2 separate regions of the Homo sapiens genome follow, and region 1 is linked to region 2. The links are contacts of gene promoters, found by promoter capture Hi-C in blood cells and fetal thymus (Javierre and others, 2016). All regions are on one chromosome and are shown on one strand. Each heading gives the region's core, a stretch centred on a gene start or on the middle of the fragment in contact. The rest is flanking DNA. Distances are from core to core; before and after follow the strand shown. Region 1 has its middle 180 kb from the start of LINC00882. Region 2 holds the start of CBLB (Cbl proto-oncogene B).

The links. The method cuts DNA at HindIII sites, captures the fragments that hold promoters and counts their contacts. A CHiCAGO score of 5 or more calls a contact.
Region 1: a fragment that was not itself captured here is called in contact with the fragment with the promoter of CBLB in region 2 in 1 of 17 cell types (fetal thymus); the score reaches 6.1 in fetal thymus.

The regions. Positions count from the first base shown.
Region 1 is chr3:107,058,068-107,065,478 of GRCh38, reverse strand. No RefSeq gene overlaps it. Among named protein-coding and RNA genes, the nearest start is that of LINC00882, 180 kb to the left of the region's middle. The HindIII fragment of the contact is 878 bases long and covers 4,410-5,287 here.
Region 2 is chr3:105,866,768-105,874,440 of GRCh38, reverse strand. It overlaps CBLB (Cbl proto-oncogene B), which reads left to right and starts at 5,429. Exons shown (of 19, transcript NM_170662.5): 1 at 5,429-5,705; 2 at 6,850-7,031. The coding sequence starts at 6,864. It overlaps LOC105374024 (a long non-coding RNA gene), which reads left to right. Exons shown (of 3, transcript XR_007095990.1): 3 at 643-877. RefSeq lists a silencer at 5,231-5,460 and enhancers at 7,218-7,307, 7,428-7,477, 7,508-7,557. The HindIII fragment of the contact is 9,979 bases long and covers 1-6,114 here.

The DNA of each region.
Region 1 (7,411 bases), core at 3,599-6,098, 1.2 Mb before region 2:
GGCAAGATTCAGGTGACAACCTCAGCGTTCCAGAGATACAGGATGTTATGGAGGAGGGAGAAAAGCAAGTTGGCATTTGGCAGAATGCACAGAGGCGAGACTCGAGAGTGGGCGGTGGAAGCTGAGGCTTTCAAAGATTTCTGACCTTCTGCCTGCCAACTTGGAATTAGATTTCTTGATGGAGGGGGAGAATGGGGGAAGGGGGTAGAAAAGGCAGATGCCAAGAGAGATTACTGATTTGGCAACCAGACAAAAGGATGCTGTGGCTGGCACCTGCAGCAGAGAAGGGCAGAACGGTGTAGCCAGTAGGTCTAAGGCAATGGGCTGAGTGCCAGAGTTTGAGCTGCTACAGAGCGGCCTGAGATGGCCTCTTTTTTAGACACGAGAAAATAGTCTGTAGAGAAATAAAATTTAAAAATGAGAAATTTAATATCTTTGGATAGATTTTTAGGATTGGCATTTACAAGCGTATTCAGTTGCCTTTCTCCTGTCTGAGGAGCATAACCTTTTGTGGTCAGATTGATGATGCTCTTTAAAAAAAAATCCCAGCAATATTGTTACATTTCCAATTCCAAAACCAAAGTGGTGGGATTTGACTATAGGTTTCCTCATTTCCCCAGCAGTGAATACGAAGTGACTTTTCCATGTCCCAAATGTTGACCCAGAACAATATCATTCCCTGTGAGACAGGAGTAACTGATTACATTAGAATACAATTTTGTTGCCACAGAAATCAGGAAACTTTAAATTTAGCAGCTTCCTTCTAGGGTTTTTTGCTCTGGGCTCTCAGCAAGCGTTTGCGTTTCTACGTCCTATATCACCGTGCACCACTAGATGTCACTGTTACTCGGGTCTTTGGGTAACAGACTCAACAATATGCCTGACCTTTTGTGCCTGGGGAAAAACAATCTTCAGAAGGGGAGGATAATACTGTCTGTGTGGATTTAAATAAGACCTCTTTACCTGGCATTTTTATCGAAAAACAGATACTCCATATGTTGTGTTGATTGCTGTTTCCCTTTCTGTTTTTGAAAGGGAGAGACTGAATTAAATGCGTTTCTTCCCACAAATGTACCTTACCATTTCTCCTTATTCTCAATTCTCCCTTAAAAATGTAGCTTTTAGCTCCATAATATAAGAAATATTTGTTAGAAAATTAGGAAAATCATCATTCTATGGGTATTTAGAATCTATATATGGACTGCAAATGTTTCTTCCCTAATCTCTTCCTAACCTTAGAGAACTTCAAAATGCATTGTCTCATTTCCTAAGGAAAAATGTTGTAACTCTAACTAGGAAAAGAATCCTGTGAGAGCACAGCAAGTCAGCGTTAAGAATTGAATTTTCATGACTACCCTCGGATACATCCTTGAACCTAAGGGACAAATGTTGCCGTGAGTTTCAGGTTGTTTAAATGGTGGTGTTAGACACACAAATCATTCATTTTCCTGCTAAATTTCCTTTTCTTTTATTGAATATTGGATACAGGTATGTCTTTTAAGATGTGGCCATTGATTCATATATACCAGAGCATTATTTAAACATGAAATTAAATAAGATAATTAAATAACAATGCATTTATAAAGCGTTCTTGAAAATAGATTAATTATTTAGAGCATTTGAGTGAAAAGTCTCAATACGATTTCACTATAGCAAATGATAGCCATTAATAAGTCATAACAGGATAATAACATAAAACAAAAAATGAAAACCTTACAAAATATATCTTAAAAAGCGAAGTAGGGCTTTACTTTGAGTTGAGTTCGTGGTACAAAATGAATCAATTTGTTCTTTTTGGAACTTTATCTCCAACCGTGTAATATTTGTGTCTTTAACTGTTGGCTGCTTCTAACAGTTACTGAGCCAATTGACCTCCAAACTAGGACTACATCAATCTGTTTTCTCTCTAGCTGCGATGCCACAGTATTTATAGGTTATTCTGCACTGGAATTTTACCCCCTGGAGATAACTTGTAGCTATGGGCCAATGCCAACTCATTCTGACTCAGGTGGGGATAATAGTCCTTAAGATGAAGTTGCCATGGACTTTAACAATGTTTGGGGTCTTATTCTCTCTGCTCCTGTTCGCAACTCCTCACACTTTTTCCCCTCCCCTCTCTTCCTCTTCCCTTCAATTCTCTGTTCTGTATTCTTCTCTATCTCTTTCTTTTTCCTCCTGCCCTTTCTGTGTTTTCCTTCCATATGTGTGACCCTTAGATTTGTTGTAGAACTATATTGGAGATCGAATTATGATCACTTCTATATTAGTTTCCAGTGGTTTCTGTAACAAATAATCCAAATTTGGTGGCTTAAAGCAACAGGCATTTATTATTTTTTAGTTCTGGAGGTCAGAATTCTGAAACCCATTTCCTGGGCTGAAGTTAAGATATCTTAATTTCAGAGCTGTCCTCCCTATGAAGGCTCTAAGTGTATCTGTTTCCTCGCCTTTTCCAACTTTTAGAATTGCATTCCTTGCATTCTTTTGCTCCCCACCCCATCCTTCAAAGCCAGCACTGTAGCATCTTCAAATCTCCCTCTCTGCTGAGGCCATGACATTGTCTTCTCTCTTTTGTGTCAAATCTCCTTCTGCCTCCCTCTTGGGACACTTTTGAGCATATTTAGGGCCCACCTTGATAACCCAAGTTAATGTTTCCATTTCAAGATCCTTAATCACATCGGTAAAGCCTTTTTTTTTTTTTTAATATAAAGTAACACTACGAGTTCCAGGGATTAGGACCTGGATATATTTGGGGGCCATTATTCAGTCTCCCACAGCTTTTTAGCTGTGTGGTTGTGCAATTTATTTAGTCCCTCTAAATTTTAGTTTCCTTGCCAAATAGTGTTAAGTGAGGACTTAATGAGAAAATGCTTGCAAAGTGCTTAGCATAGTGCTTGGCAAAGAGTTAAAGCCACTTTAAATTAAAATAATTTAAGTGCTAATAAATATTACTCCTGCTATCAAATAAGATTATCTCATTCTTTCCCTCCCACTCATCTTTATGGTACTTCAATCTACCTTCTGACCTCATCTCTCTACCAGAACATTTATTTCAAGGTCTCCAGTCTCTTCTAGCTGGTCAAATTCTTGGGCTTCATTTAGCAGCATTTAATTAGGTAAACCACTTATTTTACTTAGAAATGCATTCGTTATTTTGCTTCTGCCATAACATATTTTCTGTTTTTTTTTTTCTACTTCACTGGATACTTCTGTTTTCTTTACTGTCTTCTCCTTCTTTTAATCTACAGTAAAATATTGGTGTTCCTCAGAATTCTGTCTTGAAGACTCTTTGTCTATTTTTATACTGAGATGAAGAGTAGCCTGGCAGTTTGATGATCTTAAAGAAGATAGTGGGGCAGGAATACAGGCAGCAAGGGGTGGGAATGGCATGGGACAGAGCTGGAGTTGTGGTCTGGATCAGATTCTGTGGTGACTGACAGGCCCTGGTATAAGGATTTTGACATTAATGTTAGGAGTGGTGAGATGTGTCTTAAGCCTCAGAAATAGATTTTGACATTGGTGTATTAAGTAGATCTCTGAGTCAGTTTGAGTTGCTATAACAAAATACCATAGACTAGGTGGCTTATTTATTTTTCACAGTTCTAGAGGCTGGAAGTTTGAGATCAGGGTGGCAACATGATCAGTATCTGGTGGAGGCCCTCTTCCGGGGTCTAGACTGCTGACTTCTTTGTATGTGCACATGATGGAAGGAGGGTGAGAGAGCTCTCCCTGGTCTCTTTTGTAAGGGCACTTGTTTCATTCATGGAGGCTGCACTCTCATGACCAATCACTTCCCAAAGGCTCTGCTTCCTAATACCATCACATTAGTGGTTAGGATTTCAATGTATGAATTCTGAGTGGGTGTTGGTAGTGAATGCCTGAATTATTTCCTTTCCAAAAGGTCTACAGCTCATGACCTTCTCCTTTCTGAAAGCTGCTGAACCATGAGCTAACCTACTATCTGGTAATTCTGAGCTTGGATAAAAGGGCAGGAGAGAGATGTCAGAGGTGTGAGTGGAATGTCAGGGGCTCAGCTTTAAACCCTATATTTAGTAAGAACATGGGAATTTCCTATGAGTTGGAAAAACACCACTAATTGTGGCTGTGATTTAGGCAGTACTGTAGATACCTTTCTGCTCCAGCTGGTGTTAAGGCAAGAAGGAATAGCCTTAGCTATAACCTGGTCTCCTAGCCAAGGGACATGCAGTGGGAGAGGCCAAAAAGGCCCTCCAAGAACGTACAAAGAGCCAATGCTTGGATAACTCTCTCAAAGGTGAAATTGCCAAGTAGTCAATGTTCAACAGAGAAAATAGCAACAACCTAAAGAAAGAGAATGGTGGGCCTGTCACCCACCATCGTGGTTGCTCCAGTAACTATTTCTCTCCCTGCCTCCTCTCACTGCTGCTGAAGCTTCGATGGAGAGTGCTTTCTCTGGAGAACACACCCCTTCCTCCCTACCCTCAAACACTTCTAGTCAGTAGTGTGTCCTGCTTTTGTGGAAGAGGGAGGTGTTTAAATAAATATAAGAAAATCTTAACCCAAACTGAAGAAATGTCATAAGAATGAGGTGAGAGATCTATAAGGAGCTTGTACCTAGGTAAAAAGAAGGTGAAAGGAGACATTTGATAGGTATTATTTGGGAAGATGGGAAAATAATTCCATGTTTATAGTTTAATGAGTTTAGATTCTTCAATCAAAACAAGTAAACATATGTGATTTAATTTTATTATCATTTTGCTCTGTATAACAAAACTTCGAGTTAAGTGTTCCTACCGTGATCTTGCAGATAAGTAAAATGAGGTTTCATGAAATCAAGTGACTTGCCCAAGGGCACCAAGATAGCAAGATGCAGATGAGGGACTGGAGCCCTCCTGTACTTGACTTTGAAGCCTGTACCCCTTCTCACCCACTGTACCGTTACGTATACCATGCTGTTAAATTGGTCTCATGGCAGTGGTGAGTTTAGAGTTTAAAATGAATAACTATTAATGATATTACAATTCCCCACATAGATCAGTCACCTAAAATTGCAAAGGGTAGGATGATGCAAATAATTGGCTAAGTCTGGAGGCATAATAGTTCTGATTTTGAAGTTAGATTCTGCTAAGACTACAGAAAGAACTATGCTACTCCCCTAGGTGTTCTTTATCCAATCACTCTGGATTATTTTAACCATAGCAAATGATTTTTGTATTGTCTATTTTCCTTCATCCACCCCCTTTAGAATATCAGCTCAATGACCTTTTTGTCTTTTTTACTGATGTTTTGCAAGCAACCTAGAACCAAAGCTTGGCACTTAAGAGGCCCTCCTTAAATATTTTCTGAGTAAATGAATGAAAGAAGAAATGATATGTAAGCTACCACCTAAATTCTACCCTGGAGTTACAGGCAAAAAAAGAAGGATAAAAAGGAGGAAGAAGAGGAGAACCTCAGTACAGAGCCCATCTGGTTATTCAAGAGTCAGTGGTTGGCAACACTGCATAAACATGTCATTATGGTCACTGGTTGTCTTTATAATGGGTTTGGTGACACTTGCATTAAAAAAATCTGTGAAGGGACAGTCACCATAAGAACCCAGTTGCATCAAAATTCTTTTTCCAAAAGCCTAACCAGGTGCTCAGCTTCTTCGTACCTGGGCGACAATTTCTAAGACTTTTGTCAGTTATTTGAGTGGTTGGGGTCTAGCTTGAGTCAAAGAGACTTAGACAAATAAGCATAACAGATATGCTGGTATGCCTGCTAGAAGTTTCTTTCTAGAGAGACCAATGGTCTTCTTGGTGAGATAATTTATTCTCAAAGGAATTTGATTTTCATCCAGTAATGAAGATTTCTTGTTTGAGTGCAAGAGCATACAAGGCTGGAGTGCAATGGTGCAATCTCAGCTCACTGCAGCCTCTGCCTCCCAGGTTAAAGCAATTCTCCTGCCTCAGCCTCCCAAGTAGCTGGGATGACAGGCACCTGCCACCACATCTGGCTAATTTTTGTATTTTTAGTAGAGATGGGGTTTCACCATGTTGGCCAGGCTGGTCTTGAACTCTTGACCTTAAGTGATCCGCTTCCTTCGTCCTCCCAAATTGCTGGGATTACAGGCATGAGCCACCATGCCAAGCCTCTCAGCGTAACTTCTATTAGACATGTAGCTGAGTCATATGGTGGATGTAGATGTGTTTGGCAGAGGGGATGTGTCTGTGTCTGAGAGCTCAAAGTGAAAAGTTACTGGATTCAAGTCATCATAAGATATCAAGGTCCAAGCAGCCCTACTTTGAGATCCCTTCTTAGGGGAAGCAACCCTGGTAATGCAACTAGGGGTAGTTGTTGAATGAGCTGAATGGCATTGGTAGAGTCGTTCATGAGTTCATGTGAAATGCTTTGCAGAACCTCCCAGAAGATTGTGAAAGGGTTTGAGGGACAAAGGCCAATGAATCCTTACTGTTGTACTCAGTACAAATATGCAGGTAAATTTACCTAGCTGTTTGAATAAATATAACTACTTTTCAAAACTCATCAATCCATAGTCTACTTAAAGGCAACATACATAATTGTAATAGTTTCCTGACAAATGTAGTCACCTTCATTCTATTGTTTTAGATGTTAAAGGAATTAATTAACTAGATTAATTAATTAACTCCCCTGCCTTCTTCTCCAAGTGAGCGTCATTGTCAATGTCCTGATGCTGGTCCAAGCTATCTTTTCTCCATACATGCATTCACTAACTGAGATGTCACTCATTCAGTCTGGTGTTTGGCCTTTGGTATCACTCCTTGCTACCATCATCGGAGATGTCAGTGTTACCATTTGGTGGCTGGCTGCAAAGTGCTCTGCTGCAGGGAGGTTCCTTGTTCTGACCCCAGGACGCTTCAAGGACTCCCTTTCAGCTAAGTTCTGCGTGCTTCTAGGGACCAGAGAGATTGGGCTTCCCTCCCATGCTATTGCTGGCTGGGCAAAGGATGTCTGTTTGACTGCCTCAGGTGCTCTCTGACAAACTTTTCTCTGTTGCAACTACACCAGGGGATCCTGCATTGGGAGGGAAATTGTAGGAGTTATTCCCTCTTTGGAGTCCCCTCCTAGGAAGATAATATGCTTTCTTTTTGCTCAGATTTTAAAGCATTCTGGGAGTTCTATTATTGTCTCCCATTGTGAGGCTAGTCAAGTCATATTTTGATTATACACAAAGGTGGATGCTTAAGATCACCTTTCAGAACTGAACTCTTGGCCAGGCATGGTGGCTCACACCTGTAATCCCAGCATTTTGGGAGGCCAAGGCGGGTGGATCACTTGAGGTCAGGATTTCAAGACCAGCCTGGCCAACATGGTGAAACCCCCTCTCTACTAAACATACAAAAATTAGCTGGTCATGGTGGCGGGTGCCTCTAGTCCCAGTTACCCGGGAGGCTGAGGCAGGAGAATCATTTGA
Region 2 (7,673 bases), core at 4,180-6,679:
GAAGACTTTCTGTAGATTTGCAATATATTAGATCTCTACTGGCATTGTTAGAGTTACTTCTGTAGGTCATTTTCTTCTGATTTCTATATTTGTTTTGGATCTTAATATGCCTTCTTGAGTAGAAAAATGAACATATAACTGGTCTATGTTAATTTTATTCTGATTAGCAGTTACTTTTCATGTAATTACATGGTTTTTACACTATAACATAATCCATGAATTTAGGTTTATTACCTACACCTTTTAGGGTTCAATCACCCTGGATAAATTTGCCAATTTCCTCATCTGGCAAACTGAGTGGTGTGATCAGTACCAAGATCCCCTTCAGCCTTAAAATTTCTGAATTTATATTGTTAATTAAAAAATAAAAATAAAAATTCAGTGTTGTATTTATTTGGTATTAATCAAAATGCATGGGGACTGTAGAGACACTGTTATAACAAATTCTAACTTTACATTCTTCACAAAAATCTTGAGGGAAAAGAAAATTGTCCATTTTTTTTGAATCATGGCTTCTTAGGGAAACACAGGAAACGTGAGAGGGGCATGAAAAAAATATAGAACTGAGACAAAATAGTAGGTTTACTCCAAGTTTACAAGTAGCAATATTTAATGCTTTGGTATAAATCGTCTTTATTACAGAGAACAACTACCAAATAAATCATTGTGTGGAAAAGAATTGATTTGGGAATCAATTGTCTGGGAAAGAAAATCACAAAGAAGTGATTGTGAAGACATTCATTTGTTCTTCAGATATGTAACTGTTTAATCTGAAGTAAACTTTGGGATGGAAAACTATTAGGAACGTTTCTTGCTTAATTTTGCCATTGTACGCTCTGATATTGATTGTTCAGGATTATTGAGCACACATGCTGTAATGAGAATTGTATATAATTTACTATATATACTTACATATGATAGACATTAAAGGATATATGTGTCTAGTAATAGCAGATGCATGTTTCTGCCCACTAAAGAAATGGTTGCAGCTTTTAATAAATATGGCTAAGGGAATGATGTTAAGATTACGTGTGTGTGTGTGTGTGTGTGTGTGTGTGTGCATGCACATATTGTTCTGGATTTCAAATGAGTATACAAAATTATCATTATCTTACACCACTTGCATTGGGATCTTCAGTTTTTCCTTCAAGAAGTGAATTATTAATAATATATTTAACTTTTAGAGTATTATTGTGGTAGGACTCGCCAGTTTCTTGCTACAACATCTATTCATCCCTTTCTCTTTAGAAACAAACTAGAATTTTTATATTGCTTCCCATAATAAAAAACATATTGCCTTCCAGATTTTGCAGCTAAATTTGGCTATGGGACTAAATTCTGGCCTTGAGTTGTTTAAGAGAGATACTTGTGAGAGTTCTCTGAAGATTGGTCAAAGGAAACTAACTCAGATGGAAGATCCATTTGCCCTCCTGCCTTTCCTCTTAGCTTTTAGCCTGAAAATCAGTGGTGATGGCTGGAGAGCCAATAGCCATCTTGGAACACGACGTGATTCTGAAGGTGGGAAGCAAGGCTGGGATGGTACAGAATAAAGATAGGAACTTGGGTCCTTGAGAAAATTGTGGAGCCACCATATCTACCTGTAATTCCTACTTTCAGACCTTTTTCTATGTGTGAGAGATTTATCTTATTTAAGTCATTGTTATTTTTGTTGTTAATACTGTTGTTGTTAAGCTAGCATTCTAGTTGAGCCCAAGCTAGGACTCAGAGTCTGGTTATATCTGATGAGCCCCTGGATCAGCATCCCTCAATGCCAACTATTAAATGTAATGGGTTAATGATGAATGGAACTCTATTTCACGTAACAAAGAACAACTTGTTATGCCCAAATATTACGAGGTCATATTGCTCTTATTTCTCTCTAACCTGAGATTTGGGTCCGTGTTCTCTATGAGAAATTAGAAATTTCTGTTGTGGTATTCTGTTTTTGTGTTAGGATCGTCACTGTAAATCTACTTAATAGTAAAAATAAAATCTTGCTTGGAATTGTGAATTAAATGAATTCTCCATTGTGCAGAAACAGGAACAGCATTATATTTTGTATGTAATACTCTTAAACAGTCAATTCATTTATTCAATTAATATTTTTGAGCTATTATGGGTTACATAAGTTATGGAGGGGCTTTGTTATTTAGTCAACTCATGTCCAATATCACAGGGGTCAGTTGTGAATTTGGAAAAAATAGAAGAAAAGAAAAATTAAAGCAAATGACAAAAGTCTAAATATTTTCCTCAAATAATTGTCTTTTTTTTCCTTAATGTCTTGTGTTTACAGACTGGAATTTAAGCCGCATTTTTCTAGATGGCACCAGCCTATTGGTACATATATTAATGTCAAACAGTAATGCTCAAATTACACGGGTTCACAGCTGTTTCTACATAATTTCTTAAGTATTCTTGCCACGAAGTCTCCCCCTCTTTTCTGGGAGACCTGGGGGAAGGGTCTCACATGTCCTTATGACCGGTTTGCTCACATTACTCACTTACTAGCCACCCTTGTGCTTACAAGATCCTTCATGTAGGAGCGCCACCATTCTGTCTTATGTCAGGATCTTCCAGTAGAACACTGCTGTCCCGTAATAAGGCCATATACATGTTCTTTCTAGGTTACAATTTCCCACACTGCTAACTGATGCTGCATTCACTTTAAACTGCACCCTACTGGGGACTGACTTGTTCTATAGAAATGAGGTGACTGTTTCTCTAGCCAACTCTGTCAGCTTGAAGTACTACTGCTTATGTCCTAAAATCTCTTATGGAAACATTTCTTTGTCTTCTTATTTATAGTCCTGAAGCATGCATCTTTTATTGTGCTTTATCTCTTGTGTCTCTACTGGAGGCACCCGGGGTTTGAAGTTTTATCCCAGCAGTTATTTATTCCCCGTGCACATTTACTTTTTCTAATAATTGGCAGGGAGGACTTCTACTGCTCCATCAGTTTATGAGAGAAAACCAAACTGAATCCGAGTTTCAGCTCAACTGGGAACCCTGCTACACCAGAACTTAACCTGGATTCCAGATTGCTTGATAAAATAGCTAGTTGATGATAAGCTATAATTTCTTGACCACACACACACACACACACACACATGCGTACATATGTACATACAGCAGTTCCCTTCATCCACAGGATATGCTCAAACCCACAGTGCATGCTTGAAATCTCAGAAAATACTGAACGCTATATATACTATGAGTATTCCAATACATACATACCTATGATAAGTTTATGAAGTAGTCACAGTAAGAGATTAATAACAATAACTATTAATAAAATAATAACAATATGCTGTAATACAAGTTATATAAATGTGGTATTTTTCTCTCTCTCAAAATATCTTTTTGTACTATACTCACCTATTTTCAAACCCTGGTTGTCCACAGGTAACTAGAACCAAGGAAAGTGAGATGGCAAATAAGTGGTAAGGGATGCTACCGTATCTCACATACATATATTTCAAAATACGTCAAACCATACACCTCAAAACTTGTAATTTATATCAACATGATATGCTTGATACCATAGGCAATGCCATTTTCTCATTAACTCATCTCTTTCAGTTGCAAAACACCATATAAAAGGAATGGCACATGCTATAACATGTATTTTGGGTATTTTACATTTATCCAGATATGAATATAAGTAATATACTTAGTTATAATGTTCCCTTAAGCCACTGTTTTGCTACATGCTTCTACACATTAATTCTTTTAAAATTTATTTTAAAGGTAACACAGTTTTTTTCTTTTACAGTCTCCCCTTAGTAAATGTAGCTACTACGACTATGAGTAAAAGAGATATGGATGGGTGGAGGAGATATGGAGAGGCCAGCACTTTTGTAGATAAATGCAATGTGAAAACAAGGAACTACTCTTTAATTACTGGCACAGAAATAATGACAAGGAAACAAAATTACTTCCTGAATCACACTTTATCACCTGACTGGTTGCAAAGGCACATTTTTTTTCTGTTTTCGTCAAATTAAAATCTTAACCATGTAAATTCAAGGCTGTAAAGGAAAACTCAGGATCCTTCATAGTAATAATTACAGTATTAAAATTCTTAGTTGCTAGAAAGTGGTTAGAACCATTGAGAAACATTTTATCAGGTTACGTGGTTAGAGCAAGATTTGAAAAAACAAAATCAAAAACAAAAAACCCAATGTAAAATATCAGAACATCTGAGATGTCCAAGCTGAAAAGTGTAATAAACGCTATCAACTGTAGTGGAAAGAAAGTTCCAAAGTATGAAGTCCAGAGCAATTGTTGGTAGCATGAGTGGTGGGATTGAAGTAAACTGAAATAAATGGAAGGCATTTGTTTAACCTATGATATTGCTGAAAGACAAGTCCCAGCACAGTAGCTTTCTCCTTTAAAGACTAGCCAGATGTCGGCCTTTTTAAGAGCACAAAGAAGGGAGCCACAGAAAGAGGTAACAATGCTGGTAGAGAATGGCAGCTACAGTAAGGTTGTTTTTAAATGGATAGAAATCTATGTAAAGGTGACTCCGACAAAACACAGTAGCTGTCTCCTCCTCAGTCATTTAGGCAGAAACTTGCACTAAGTAAAAAGGTGCAAGGTATTTATCAGCAATTCCCATTATCTGGTACTTTTATTGCTTTGGCATGATTAGCAGAGACTGTTTGGCCAGCGTTGTCAACTATTTGCTTTTTCATCAGCCTGATGTTTGGTCTGCAATCCCTCTAAAACTAACAGCAAAAGAGAAACTCGGAAACTTGGGAAGTTTCAGTTGGCATTCAGATGTCACCCCAGCCTACTCTCTGTGAGATTTATTCTGCATTTTAGAAGCTCAGTGGCTGTTGCTCTTTTTGATAGCCAACAAGAAGCAACGTCATAGACCTGTTTGGCTGCTGTCCTGGGTAGAAGGGTTTGGCAGCCCTAGGGAGATGAATTTCTCCAGCGTTGGACCCGCCCAGAGCGGAGAAGCAACACCCTTCCAGCCACTACTCTGTTGCTATGAAACAAAAGACTAGGAAGGTAAGCGAAGCAGGAAGTCCCGCCTTTCAGCCCCAGATGGCTTTGGCTCCCGGTCCCGACGCTCACGCCCACCTGCCACCCCTTATTGGTTAGCTCCTTCGTGCCTTGCATCCCTTCGTCCATTTCCTTTCCCGTTTCCACTTTCGTTCCCGGGAGAGTCCAGGCCCCTCATTTCTCTCCGAGTCCAATTCCTTTCTGACGTGCTGCGAGCGGGCCTTCCTCTGGGGCCATTGTGTACTGTGGAGGACGTGGACGGGGCGGCAGCGCGAGGAGGACGGGCGCCTCCCGTCCATTGGCTGCACCCGCTGTCGGGCAGTGCGCGGTTGCGCGGCATTGGCTCAGCGGCGCCCGGCCCCGCCCCCGCCCCGCCCCGCCCCGAGCCTGGGTCCTGTGTGTGCCACAGGGGTGGGGTGTCCAGCGAGCGGTCTCCTCCTCCTGCTAGTGCTGCTGCGGCGTCCCGCGGCCTCCCCGAGTCGGGCGGGAGGGGAGAGCGGGTGTGGATTTGTCTTGACGGTAATTGTTGCGTTTCCACGTCTCGGAGGCCTGCGCGCTGGGTTGCTCCTTCTTCGGGAGCGAGCTGTTCTCAGCGATCCCACTCCCAGCCGGGGCTCCCCACACACACTGGGCTGCGTGCGTGTGGAGTGGGACCCGCGCACACGCGTGTCTCTGGACAGCTACGGCGCCGAAAGGCAAGAAGGGAAGGGGTCGCCGGGGAGGCTCCACACTTCTTGCCGGCCCGGGGGCCCGGGGTAGCCAGGCGCGGGCCAAGGAGGAAGAGGGGACAGCCCTGGCTCTCAGCTGCCTTTGCCGCCGCCGTCCAGTTTGAAGTGGGGCATTTAAAGACCAGAACCCGCAGGCCGGGGAGGAGGGAGAGGGCGTCCAGGCAGACGGCGGTGAGGACTGCAGCAGGCGGCCGGGAGGCGCGTCCACCCAGGCGCCGAGCCCACAGTGTCCCTCCCGCGCCCTAGACGGACGGTGCTGCGGGCACGGGAGGGACACTTTGTCCCCTCCCAGTCCACCTTCCTCCTGCAGCTCAGACCCGAGGGGCCGGGAAGGGGCCTGAGCAGGGAAGGGACACAGGCGTCCTGAAACAAAGCTTTGGGTTGAGGGCAGAGGCGAGGAGCCAGAGAAGTGAACTCCTCCTTTCCGTGGCCGCTCTTGTCATTTTTCTCTTTTCTCTTTTCAAATGGGCTATTTGTGTGTTAATTTCATTTGGTTCTTGGGAATAACGACTCACCGCGTTGATTTAAAGAAAGGTGTTCGTGTGTCCGTACTTGGTGGTTTTAGTGTGGGACATGCCCTGCGCTTTTGTTGACAACAGAGCTGTCCCTTACGTTTGTGTAGGATAATCTTTATGTTTATGTAACTTGGAGAAATCTAACAGAGTGAAAGTGAAGTTTCTGCGTAAGGCTCCCAAAATGTATGATAGGACCTTCAGTTGTTCTGGTATTTTGAATTGGAATTAAGGCAGGAGGGGAAGAACATTCTGTTTTTATCTAGGTGGGGGAAACCTGTTTAAGTTTTGTTTGTTCTTTTTTTTTTTTTTATGAGTTGAGTATTAGTTCAGCCTTAGCTACTTGAAACGTGAGCAGGATGCATCTTTAACTCTTAGTATTGTAAAAGCAAATCTAGGATCACTGCTCTTAAAACTACTGTGTGTAAAGATTGAGAGTGTAAATTCACAAGCTTATTGATAAAGATGAATCCGGAACTTTTGGTTTTGCTCTAATCGATGGAGGAAGATGCAGTGGTACAAGTTAGTCTCTAGTTTTCTGGTGGGTAAATATTTTCAAAACCAACTAACTTTTCTTTTTTTAAATCTGCCTTTTAAAGAACTAAAATTCCAGATGGCAAACTCAATGAATGGCAGAAACCCTGGTGGTCGAGGAGGAAATCCCCGAAAAGGTCGAATTTTGGGTATTATTGATGCTATTCAGGATGCAGTTGGACCCCCTAAGCAAGCTGCCGCAGATCGCAGGACCGTGGAGAAGACTTGGAAGCTCATGGACAAAGTGGTAAGTTCTGTCTGACGTTGCCTGTGCGAAACACTATTCACTTTGTCTGTGGTTTCTCCAGATTTATTTATACTGTTAATTAATACCAACCATTGTTATGGCAACAATCTTTTGATTTCAATTCATCATTTTTCTTCAACTCTGTGTTTTTTGAAAAGTTGGATTCAAAGACTTTTTTGTTTTTTAACCTTTCATCCTTTCTACTCTTTAAGGTTCAGAGTTCCTCTACATGACTCAGTATGTAAAGTTTTACCATTGGCTGCTTTTTGTTGGTGTATGGCCATAGAATGCTTGGAAGTGTTTGTTCTGTCTTCTGTGAGGTTGTGTTGCTCTTAGATAACAAAAGAGTACCAGCAGGTTATTTAAGTCTTTGACCACTCATGACAATCATCTGGTATGATACTGAAAATATTTACTGGGGAAAGAAACAGATTAGTTCTTAAGTGAAGAAGCAGTAGTTGAGGGAGTTTCCATTTTCATCTTTGAGAATTCATCTTCATTAAGAAACTTTTTTTGTTGTTAATGGGAGAGTTAACAGTTTCTTTCATCTACTATTCCATTTTGAAACAGGAAACCTTTCGATGGCACATTGTTTATTGTGAAAGGAAAATTTATGTTGGGGGTGGTGAGGCTGAGAGTATC